Linked DNA regions of Homo sapiens: regions 2, 3 and 4 are each linked to region 1. Evidence: promoter capture Hi-C in 16 types of primary human blood cells and fetal thymus (Javierre and others, 2016). All regions are on one chromosome and are shown on one strand. Each heading gives the region's core, a stretch centred on a gene start or on the middle of the fragment in contact. The rest is flanking DNA. Distances are from core to core; before and after follow the strand shown.

Region 1 (2,700 bases), core at 174-2,673:
CTCCATCCACTAGAATGTAAGTTCCAGGAGCAAAAGGACTTTCTATTTTGTTTACTGCTGTCTTCCCATCACCTGAACACTATCCGGCACACTGAAGGTTGCCAGTAAATACTTGCTAAATGGATAAACAAGTGGATGCTCATGGTTTCATAGATAATATTTCCCTCTTGGCCTTGGTACTATTTATTCTACCATATGGAGCAGCCATAGCCTGAAAGCATCCAGAGCATCCTTAACTTTTCAGCGTAGGATTCACTGGTTAAGTGGAAGTAAGGCCTAGTTGAAAATTCTGAAAGAAGCCTGGTACCAGCACTGTCACTGAGGCCTTAACGAAGCAGATCCAAAAATACTCTCTTACTCAGTTTCTACATTCGCTAAATGTATACAGTGTAACCGTCCCTCGCATTGTAGGATAAAGAATACACCTTATCAATGAGATATTTGTTATGCAGTATATGGCATGCGTTAATGCAAACGATGTCATGTACTACATTAAAAAATCGCACTGATATTTTGATAAATATACAATGCACTTGTAGATAAAAACCAGAGAATTTTTCCCTCTACAGCTTTTTTGAGGATTTGGGAGAAATGGACAAATGCAACAACATTGCATGTCATTAAATACAGTATATCCAAACACAACGAGTTTCTTGGCCCAACAGATATAGACCCTGGAGCACTATAAGAATATGTTAAACACCTGGATGAGGGAAAGAGAAGACTGCTTCCAAAACATACTTACTTTATTTCAAAGTCAAAAGTATTCAACACTTAATTCATACTGCATCCCAGAGAAACGTCCCACCCGCGCCCATGCATGTTACAAGTTTTGAGAGCATTTTATAACTGCACTTTAATCCCTCTGCAGTGAATGACTTCTGGTAAAGCGCTGGCAGTTAATAATACTTTTTGTAGAAAAAAAAATTAATACAACAACCACAATACCTCCACTCGCAAGAAAGCGGAGGAGGGCCCATTACTCTGTCTCCAGGGACTCCCAGAATCCCGTACGCCCCGACATAAGGAAAGTCATCCAGGGAACACACACGTCGCTCCCGCCTAGAGAGTGGAAATGGAACATGGGACCTGCCCATCAGCGGAGGCCCAGACACAAGTCAGAGGTGTCCGCAGGGAATGCAGCGTGGTTCCAGACAGCCTCGGTCCCCAGGGCCAGCGACCACCGCCTGAGACCGACCCAGGCCAGCCCCCTCCTGATTTCGACCCGGGCCTGCCCCCGGAGCTCACATCCCCGCAAACGGCAGTCCTACCTGAGCTCTGCCCCCAGCCACAGGGCTGAGGGGGCAGGCGGGAGGAGGCGTGGCCTTCCAGTTCGCCAGTCGAACTCCCTCGTGCGGTTGTTATGACTTTCCCTCTCGGGATCCGCGCCCCGACCAAGTTCGAGTTGCACTTCCGGGGTCTTCAGGAGATTGATACGTCATTACGCACTTGACGGCAGCGGCGGCGACAACCCGGAAACGGGCGGGGCGCGGGCCCTGGGTAGGTTCCTGTGGTATTAGGTGGACTGGAGAAAGAGGCCCGCGTGAATTAAGTGTAGTTCTCTTATGCACTGGCGGACTCTGGTCGCCCTTCCTTGTGAAGGCTGCCTGGGTAGCCGTAGAGGACGAGGCCACTCTAAAGCCTCGTTTTCCCAGCGGAATTTTAACTATTCTAAGGATGTCCTTACAGCCAGTTCCCCACTCCGCTACTCAGAGTGTGTCAGACTTTACCCTGTCCATTCAACTCCAGAAAAACCGGGAGGTCTAGATTCGGAAGATTAAATTTACCTTTGAATTAGGACATGTAAAATAGGAAGTTAATATTAGCATCCTAATGACAAAAGTTTTCTCGTTATCATACTTGACTCAAATGGGAATCTTACGGATATTAATGTTTTTTCCAGAAACAGGTTTGAAAGGTATTTCAAGGATAAATCTGGGGAAAGGGATGGAAGCAACTGATTTTTAATTTTTAGATAGTACTCTCAGAGCATTTATTTAGTCCAAAACTGTTAATTTAATGAATTAGGCTAAACTAGACGCTGGGGTAACAAAGCTGAGTTAGATACCCTCTCCTCTGAGGCAGCTAAAGAGAAGGAAAGTCTGGTGGCTGACAAGTAAACCAACAGTTATGTTCTTCAGAGAGGAGATCTCAGACTCTCTAAGGTATACTTCACTTCCACACTGTTTGTACTTTGCAAATGTACCCTGCCCCCTAAAATGTAAACTCACTGATGGTAGTGACATAATCTTGTCTTTTTAATGTATCCTCAACCATACAACAGTGCCTGTCCACAAAGTAGACAATAAATACTTATTGAATGACTGAATGATCACAGTGGTAAATAATAGATTGGGGAAATCTAGAAAAGTGTATAGGACAAGAAGAAAGTGGTGTAAGTAAGTGGCGGGAGATAAGGAGCAGTAAAAGGTGAGAGAATCCACTGGAGTTAGCCAGAACTGAGTACCTGAATGAATCTCGGGCATTGCAAGACTGTTAGGGCTTCATTTCCGGAAAGAACTCAAATGGTTTGTAGAGTGACACTTTATACTGAAGAGGAAGGCAACAGCCAGATTCTGAAAAGCTTTCTATGTCATGCTGAGTAATTTGATTTTCTGCTGCAGACAATTGGGGAAGCTGAAGGATTGTTGAACAGAGGAGGGAAACATTTTTATTTTGGTGGACTTTTGCAACAGTGAC
Region 2 (2,700 bases), core at 155-2,654, 2.7 Mb before region 1:
TTATAACTTTACATTCCACACAAATGTGGACCTTCCCCTGCCATTCTCATGGAAGCAGTTCACCTTACTGCACCGACTTTTAAAAATCTCCTCCCAGATTATAACTTCTTATGCCATCTAGTTTCTTCATTTCTGTCTTTAAATCTGTGATTCTGCTGATAACTGATCATATCACAGCTAAATGTCTAGGTCTATGCTATTTGCTGCTGAGTTTTTCATTCCTAGCATATGAGTCCCTAACATGTGAATGGCTATTTATGTTCTAATTTTCTAGAGCTGCCGTATTTTAAGAGTTGTTGTAGAGAGACTAGCCCTTAACCTTCTCTTATGGTTATTAGTGATGGGAATTTGGGGGGCAGTGTTAACTGTTACATAAATGAAAAAAGCACCATAGAGGTTTTTAGCATCTCCTGAGTTACAGCTATTTTATTTTCCTGTACCTTTCTATTTGGGAACTAATTTGTTGAACCAAAATTGATTGATCCAGAACACTGAAGTGGAGATATTCATAAATAGAGATGAAGGAGGGGGAAAAGGGAATGAAAAAGGGAGATTTTGATTTGTAGATATGTAGTTGGGTGAAATAAGTATTAGTTCTGTAGCTGGTAGTGGGGATACCTGCACACTTCCTTAGGTATAGGACATTATAATAAGGCTTCCCTGCTGACCCCACTAGTTAACTTATTTTGGGAGGTGATTTACTTTATTGGAGTGTAAAAGGTCATTCCTACTACTTGCTAATTAAGGCAGCAACCTGGCAGCATGAATGATGCCAGTTTTATGAATGATCAAATCAGTTTGTATTGTGGCTGATAAAGCTTTGGAAAACTATTGTAGCAGTTCGTCAATGCGATAAAAAAAGCAGAAACCACAAGTAAAAATCTTCCAGATATTAGAGAAAAAAGTAATGAAATTTAATTGTTCAGATTGAAGGAGAATGGAAAAGTAAATGAAAACTGTATTGATGTTTTAAAATTTAAGTAGAAAAAGGGTTATGTTAACTCAGTGATTTAATTCTATTATCTGGCTCTAGATGATTTTTAAAATTGTGAATGATTGGTGAATGAGCGAATACATTTATTATAAACTTGATGCTAACAATGTGACAGTGGTATAAATAATAAATGCAGAATAAGATTTCCATAGTGGAAAATCACTGTTTTGGCACAGACAGAACTTCTTTCCATATTACTTGCCCAGGGTTAGAGAAACATTACTATTAAAAACGATTTTAAAATTCTTTTACCAAGTTATGATGTTAAGTCATATTGGTGATGAGGTAGCTTCTCTCTGTAGCAACCATCTGGTTTTGGGTTGTGATAGTTCAATAGGGTAAAGGTATCATTGCAAAACTCCTGTACTCAGTCACTCTCCACCTCCACGTTAGCTGTGTGCCATAGTGCATGCAGGTACAAACTCCGAACTGCATTTCAAATTTTCCATATCCTGTTTTCTCTTGCCCTTAATTTTCCTTGTAGGTTCTGGTGGATGTGTTGCCAAAGTTTGTTCATACATTAGCATCTGTTCTTTGACCTTCCTCATCTGTGAAATAGTGTTGTTACATACCTACATTGGATAGATGTAATGGAGAATTTTATTTTGCAAGGCATTTTCAAATATTTTTTTCTCATGGAGTCGAAAAGTAGAATATTAACTCATTTATTAGGAGACTATCATGGGAGAAATGTGGCTGTACAAAATAATATGTGTATTACTAAGGTGTTTTTGGCTGCAGAACTGACACTGTCTCTAGTGAGTTTAGGCCAAAAAAGGGAATGAATTAGAAGTATGCTCCACAGGTTTAAAAGCAGAGGGAGAGTTGAAAATTCAAGGCCTTGGGAAGGTCAACAAACAGGGTCCTAAGGGATCTGTACGGTGATCAGTCATGGAAAGTCTCTGTAGGGCACTAGCCTTCAAATGCCTCAGCTCAAGTTCCTTCTGTCCTATGTGACTCTACTCAGATTTCAGATTCTAAGACAGAGGCTGATTGCAAGCTTGGGCTGGGAGTCTTCTCCAGGGCCAATGTGCTCACCTTTTGTTTGGAAGACCCATCCTGACTTAAATAAAAGCTCATGGGAAGAGCAAGGTACTATTACCATAATACAGTGAAGAGGGTGTAGGGCCAAATAACAGATATCCATTACAAGTCCACTGGAGCACACTGCCAGTTCTTAAACCTCAAAAGAATCCGGAAGTAGGATAAAATAATTTATCTACTTTATGATGATAGTTTTCTAGTGTTGCCATTACAGGTACCACAGACTGGTGGCTTAAACAATTGAAATTTATTTTCTTTACAATTCTAGAGGCTAGAATTCCAAGATCAAGGTGTGAGTAGGGTTGGTTTCTTCTAAGGCCTCTCTCCTTACCTTGTAGATGGCCATGGTTCTCTGGTGTCTTCACATGTCTTTCCTCTATGTATCTGTGTCGTAATCTCTCCTTATAAGAACACCAGTCATACTGGATGAAGGCTCACCCATATGGCCTTATTTTACCTTAATTACCACTTTAAAGGCTCTATATCCAAATAGTCACATTCTGAGGTAGTGGGGGTTGGGATTTAAAAAAATAAATTTTGGGTGGGGATACAATTCAGGTCATAACAACTACCTAGTAAGTTGTTGTAGGTTCAGTTGGCTAGCCTAGTAAGTCTTTAGCCAACGACAGTTAATAAATATTGTTATATAGCTCAGGCATTTA
Region 3 (2,700 bases), core at 89-2,588, 2.8 Mb before region 1:
GTCAGGGATTTGTCCCAACACTCTTTTGATGAAAGAATTTGATTAGTGGACTATTGCACTCTTAAAGGCAAAGAAAACAAAGCACGGCAGTGCCCCGCTCGGTCGGGATTCAAAAGCAGTGAAAGCTGCCTTGCTCTGTTTAAAGCGACAGGACTGCTCTGCTATTCAGGAAAGACTAAGGAGGCAGCGGTATCTGCGAAGTCCTGCGAGCTCCCGGCGACAGGAGTAGCGCGAGCAGCTGACGGGGGAAATCCACTGGCAGCGAGTCGGATGAGTCAGCGCTGAGTCACGCTCGGCGCTACGTGCCGGCCTGGGCGGCCGCAGCCCGGGGCCCGCAGCCGCGGAGTCAGCAGAGATCCGCCGCTTCCTGGAAGACCCTCCCTGCGCCTGAGGGAGGGGGCGGCGTCGCCTCCTCGCGCCGCCAAGGCCCCCTGCAGTCACACACTCGCCCGCACGCACGACCTCCTCGCTCCATCCTGGGGACATCCAGGATTCACCCCCGAGGGGAAGAGTCCCATGTGACAAATGGTTAGAGCTTGGGCGGATGCTTTCATCCCATGTGTTTCCTCAAAGCTGAGATTCCAGCGCTCTTGCTCTTTTCGTGTTGTTGTTAGGTTTTTAACTTTTTTTTCCCGTTTCCTGGCAGAGGATTAACACGCTGATCTTTTTATAGTTTCCAATATTTTAAATGAAGCACAAGAAGAATGGATTAATAAAACGTGTTGAAACTTAAGCATCAAATCGTCACACTGCTCTGGGTTCTAAAATGACTAGAAAGTGACTGCACTAGAAGCTTTGAATGTTGGGTAACTGGGAAGGATTAACTCGGTTCTGATGTGCCCTTTGTTAATGAAAATCAAATCTTTGCTATTTGTCCAACCACCCTTATAATAACTAAATTTGTCTAAAGACTGGAGACATGTGTGGTAATAATTAGATATGGAGTCACCAAAGAACAGGGTAGCCATGCCTTTGTGTTTTCTGTGCCTTAACTAACATTCTGTTGTCCTAATGTGCAAATGATACATTGTTGGTTTTAAAAAATATTATGGCAATGTTTATATCCATGCTGAGAGTTAATAGCAGGTATTGTGTCATGAAGTGCAGCTAGTCAGTGAGATAGTCCTGATACAGGTGGGGTAATTATTATTTAGGGACAATTTGCGGCTGTTTTTCAAGACAGACTGGGTCTTTAGAAGTTGTGCCAGCTGTTACCGGTGGTTCTGCTTCATTGGGAGAATTATTTCCCTCCTTATCCCTGTGTACGTGTGAAATGATGCAAAACAATAGAGTGTTCGTGTAGTTTGACTGCTTTTCTTGCAGGCAAGGAGACTGAAGTAATTAGAGGTTGAACTGACTCACCAAGGTTACTGGAGAAGCATGACTACCCAATTTTGTAAAGGAGAGAAAAGCCCCAAACAAATACAAATAGGAAACATGAAAATACGAGAGAGGATCAGAGCCCAAGAAAGCAAAATGAGTAATATGGACCAGAAATGGAATCTCATATACTTGAACTAGTTGTAATGGGAGGTATACTTAATGCGCTAGCCTTAAAAAAAAAGTCAAATTATTGCATAAAAATTTAAGATTTTAAGTAATTACATACATCATTTGATGTTTTAAAAACTGTGCCTGATTCTGATTCATTATTCTTAGCATATCCATATGGATATTGCCTTGGCATTTACCAAGTCAGACTTCAGTTCAAAAACCCAAATTCATCTTATGACGGTGTGAACTTGGACTTGATACTTAGCTTCTCTAAGCCTATAATGGAGATTATAATCACCATTTCACCTGTTTGCAAAGCAGGCAGGATTAAATGAGATGATGCCTATAAAAGGTTTAGCACATTTCCATGCAAAAAATTTCTCAGTAAACGAAGCTTGTATTGTGTTATCAGTATTATTGAACTTGACTAAACTATTGATCAGATCACAAAGAGGTAGTACAGGTACTTTGTCCAGATCCTAGAACTAATAAAAGCTTTGGGAATGTACATCACAAACGTAGTGGTTCAGTGACTGATATGGTTTGGCTCTGTGTCCCCACCCAAATCTCATCTCGATTTGTAATCCCCACGTGTCAAGGGAGGGACCTGTAATCCCCATGTATCGAGGGAGGGAGGGGATTGGACCATGGAGTCAGTTTCCCCCATGCTGTTCTCGTGATAGTGAGTTCTCATGAGATCTGATGGTTTTATAAGTGTTTGGTAGCCCCTCCTTCATTCTTCTCTTTCGTTCCACTTTCTGAAAAAGGTCCTCGCTTCCCCTTCACTTTCTGCCATGATTGTAAGTTTCCTGAGGCCCCCCACCCAGCCATGTGAAACTGTGAGTCAATTAAACCTCTTTTTTTTCTTATAAATTACTCAGTCTCAAGTATTTCTTTATATATAGAGTGTGAAAACAGACTAATACAGTGACCTTGGGCAAGATCCTTAGACAAGAGTCTAAAACACCTGAGCAAGTACTTAATGTTCTTTGATTATGAGTGGAGAGATGAAAGAAATAAAGGAAATCTAAATAAAAGGAATGCCCTACAATCATCAGTTGGCCAGAAAAGTGGTAGGTGATGCAAAACAACCAGGCAAGAACGCTTTTCTCCCATCCTCGGAGAGAGCTCCTTGACAAAGTACCATAGCAGTCACTGGGCAGAGAGGATATACTATTGTACTATTGCCCCTTTGCCATACAGGAA
Region 4 (2,700 bases), core at 43-2,542, 2.6 Mb before region 1:
CTATTTTAAGGTCAGTTGATTAACAAACTTTTTGCTATGTAATTTAACATAGGTTCTAGGAATTAGGATGTGGTGGAAAGGTATTTTTGCACCAGTCGCAAATGACTTAGTTATCAGTTTCATTTTATTATCAGAAATCAACTCATTTTGTTATCAAAGTTATTTGCTATTCTTTGCTACTTCATTCAAAACTGGAATCCTGAGTAGTGCTCATTTGGACATAAAGCCCCATGGTTCTACCCACTTGCTTTGGTTGTACTATTGAGAGCAGAAACTTCAAATCCAGGATCTGTTGTCCTCTAGGGAGTCCTGTAATTCATTCTGCTTCTTCCTGGAGGAGTTGCAAAAGGGAGCCCCCACTGGGTGGAGCAATTAGAAAGTGGTTCCAGGACTCATGGTTTGGTGAGAAGATAAAGGATAGATTTCAGCACCACCCCAGCAGGGTACAACCTACACACAGCAGCCCTCCCACCTCACTTAGAGTTTCTATAGACTATGCCCCATGTTTTCAGCCTCTGCCTTAAACATTTATTTGCTCTAAGCTTCTAAAGGGTAACCTGTGTCTTATAAAGTCCCTTTACGGCTTATCTTAGTGCTGAGGACGGGGTAAACCCTCTGGACCCTGTCTTGCTGTGATCTACAAGTGACAATACAAAACCACACCCTCTTTTTAGACAAAATTTAGGCATTTAAAAATAATAGTTTATAGATTTCTAGCTATGTAAGATGATTTATTGAGTGATTAAAAGCAATCTTATTTATGATAAGTTAAAAAAATCAGGATTCATCTTCTATACATTTCTGCTCACAGTTAGAATCTGAATGTCCTGTCATCTGTGTAGGCTCAAGGAATTAGCTACTCAGAGAACCCAGAAATGGCCAGGAGCCCTTGGAAGAACAGTCTCTCTGTGACCCCATTAGCTTCGAGTCCCAGTTTCCCTGGAAAAAGTAGGGTGAGGTGTCTGACATTTTATTGAGATAAATTTTCTGGAATAGGGTTCACTCCAAGTAGAACTTCCCTGCTCTTAGGTTTATTAAGTTTCCTAGATATTTGGGGAAGGAATTCTAGATGTCTTGCGGTCATTTTCTCATTCTGCAAGTTCTGCTGAAATCCAGCATATCAAGGAACAGTTGGAAGCACAGTATGTCTAAGAGGGAGTTTTGAAAATACATAGAGGAATTTAGAAAGAAGTTTTAGGACACGAATTACAAACTTCAACTAGTTCCTAACTTTTTTGGGGCTGTTTTTGAATGAAAAGTTGTGATGGATTTCTAGTACAGTCATGCACTGCTTAGTGATGGGAATATATTTTGAGAAATGTGTCATTAGATGATTTCATCACACGCACTTTATACAATGTACTTACACAAACCTAGATGGTATAGCCTACTACACACCTAGGCTATGTGGGATAGCCTATTGCTCCTAGGCTACAAACCTGTACAGCATGTTATTGTACTGAATGCTGTAGGCAATTGTAATACAATGGTAAATATTTGTGGATCTAAACATAGAAAAGGTACAGTAAAAATACAGTATTATAATCTTTTGAGACCACTGTCATATCTTGTCTGTCATTGACTGAAGTGTCGTTGTGCAGCGCATGGCTCTAATTCCACAGGCATCTCAGGTCATACGAAATGTGTCATGTTATTAAACATTTCTCCATTTGTCATGGGACAATACTTAGCTCTCCGTGTAGGAATATTTACCATCCTGAAGGTTAAGGTCTTCAGGTTAGACCAGCCAACAGAATTCAGGAAAAAGTTTTTTTTTTTTGGGTGATAATAATAGACATCAAAGAACTTTTAGAGATGGGATCCTGAAATTGATCAACACTCTTTTGGAAACATGTGACAGAAACCTAATTCAAATTACCTTGAGCAGAAAGGAAACATGGTGGCTCTTGCAGCTCCACTAGTTCACATGCCTGAAGGAATTGTTGGGGAAACTAGGATGCTGAAAGGGTCTCAGTACCTCTGGACTCTCTCTTTCTATCTAGCTTTTATCATGCTGGTCTCTGATTGGCTTTGTTCTGCACACAAGCTTTTTTCAAATGATGCAGAAGATGCCTGCTGGTAGCACCAGAGACCTAGCTCCAGACTCAGCAGTCCCTGAGGAGTGGGAACTCCTTTCTACCAGTCCTGTTCTAAGGAAGAACTCTGGCCTTCCTCGTACCCTATGCCCAAATGCTTGGAGAAAAAAATTTCTCTTGCCATGGGTGTACTATGAGTTAAAAGTGCTGGCTTCATTTTCCTCGAGCTTGTTACTTAACCTCTTGCTGGAAAGGTCCCTGAGAAGAAGGTTACAATTCAGAGGAGCTGGCACTAGGGGAGGAGAGTGAGGTGTTCAGATGCAAAATATAAGGAGACATTGAACAATTCAGAAATCAAGATAAATTTTAACACAATATTTTAAAAAGTCAGGTTGGTCTCCTATGCCTTATGGATTGACTGCCTGTTTTGGTAAATAGTTTTTAGTGAAATGAGAGCTGAGATGAGGCCGAGGTGAGTAAGTCAGGGTCATACAAGGTAGGGTCAGATCCTGTCTTTGTTTAAAATTTGATATTTGGTTCAAGAGTCTTTAGGCAAGCAGAAAGTATAAGATGGAAGAGTGGTGGTGCTGATGTGACTTGTCAGGGTTTAGAAAGGCTAACTGGATGCGCTTCTTCTGCCTGAGTTGAGAGATAGATGCAAGGG

What was found. The method cuts DNA at HindIII sites, captures the fragments that hold promoters and counts their contacts. A CHiCAGO score of 5 or more calls a contact.
Region 2: a contact is called between a fragment that was not itself captured here and the fragment with the promoter of ARB2A in region 1, in 1 of 17 cell types (total CD4 T cells). The highest score is 5.0, in total CD4 T cells.
Region 3: a contact is called between a fragment that was not itself captured here and the fragment with the promoter of ARB2A in region 1, in 1 of 17 cell types (non-activated CD4 T cells). The highest score is 5.4, in non-activated CD4 T cells.
Region 4: a contact is called between a fragment that was not itself captured here and the fragment with the promoter of ARB2A in region 1, in 1 of 17 cell types (naive CD8 T cells). The highest score is 5.7, in naive CD8 T cells.

Annotation. Positions count from the first base shown.
Region 1 is chr5:94,110,240-94,112,939 of GRCh38, forward strand. ARB2A (ARB2 cotranscriptional regulator A) reads right to left here and starts at 1,424. Exons shown (of 11, transcript NM_032042.6): 1 at 1,272-1,424. LOC105379087 (a long non-coding RNA gene) reads left to right here and starts at 1,463. Exons shown (of 7, transcript XR_001742441.2): 1 at 1,463-1,500; 2 at 2,086-2,165. The HindIII fragment of the contact is 15,548 bases long and covers 1-2,582 here.
Region 2 is chr5:91,435,046-91,437,745 of GRCh38, forward strand. No RefSeq gene overlaps it. Among named protein-coding and RNA genes, the nearest start is that of ARRDC3, 53 kb to the left of the region's middle. The HindIII fragment of the contact is 1,176 bases long and covers 817-1,992 here.
Region 3 is chr5:91,280,344-91,283,043 of GRCh38, forward strand. No RefSeq gene overlaps it. Among named protein-coding and RNA genes, the nearest start is that of LUCAT1, 33 kb to the right of the region's middle. RefSeq lists enhancers at 1-116, 115-374, 117-1,058. The HindIII fragment of the contact is 1,095 bases long and covers 792-1,886 here.
Region 4 is chr5:91,495,488-91,498,187 of GRCh38, forward strand. No RefSeq gene overlaps it. Among named protein-coding and RNA genes, the nearest start is that of ARRDC3, 110 kb to the left of the region's middle. The HindIII fragment of the contact is 1,505 bases long and covers 541-2,045 here.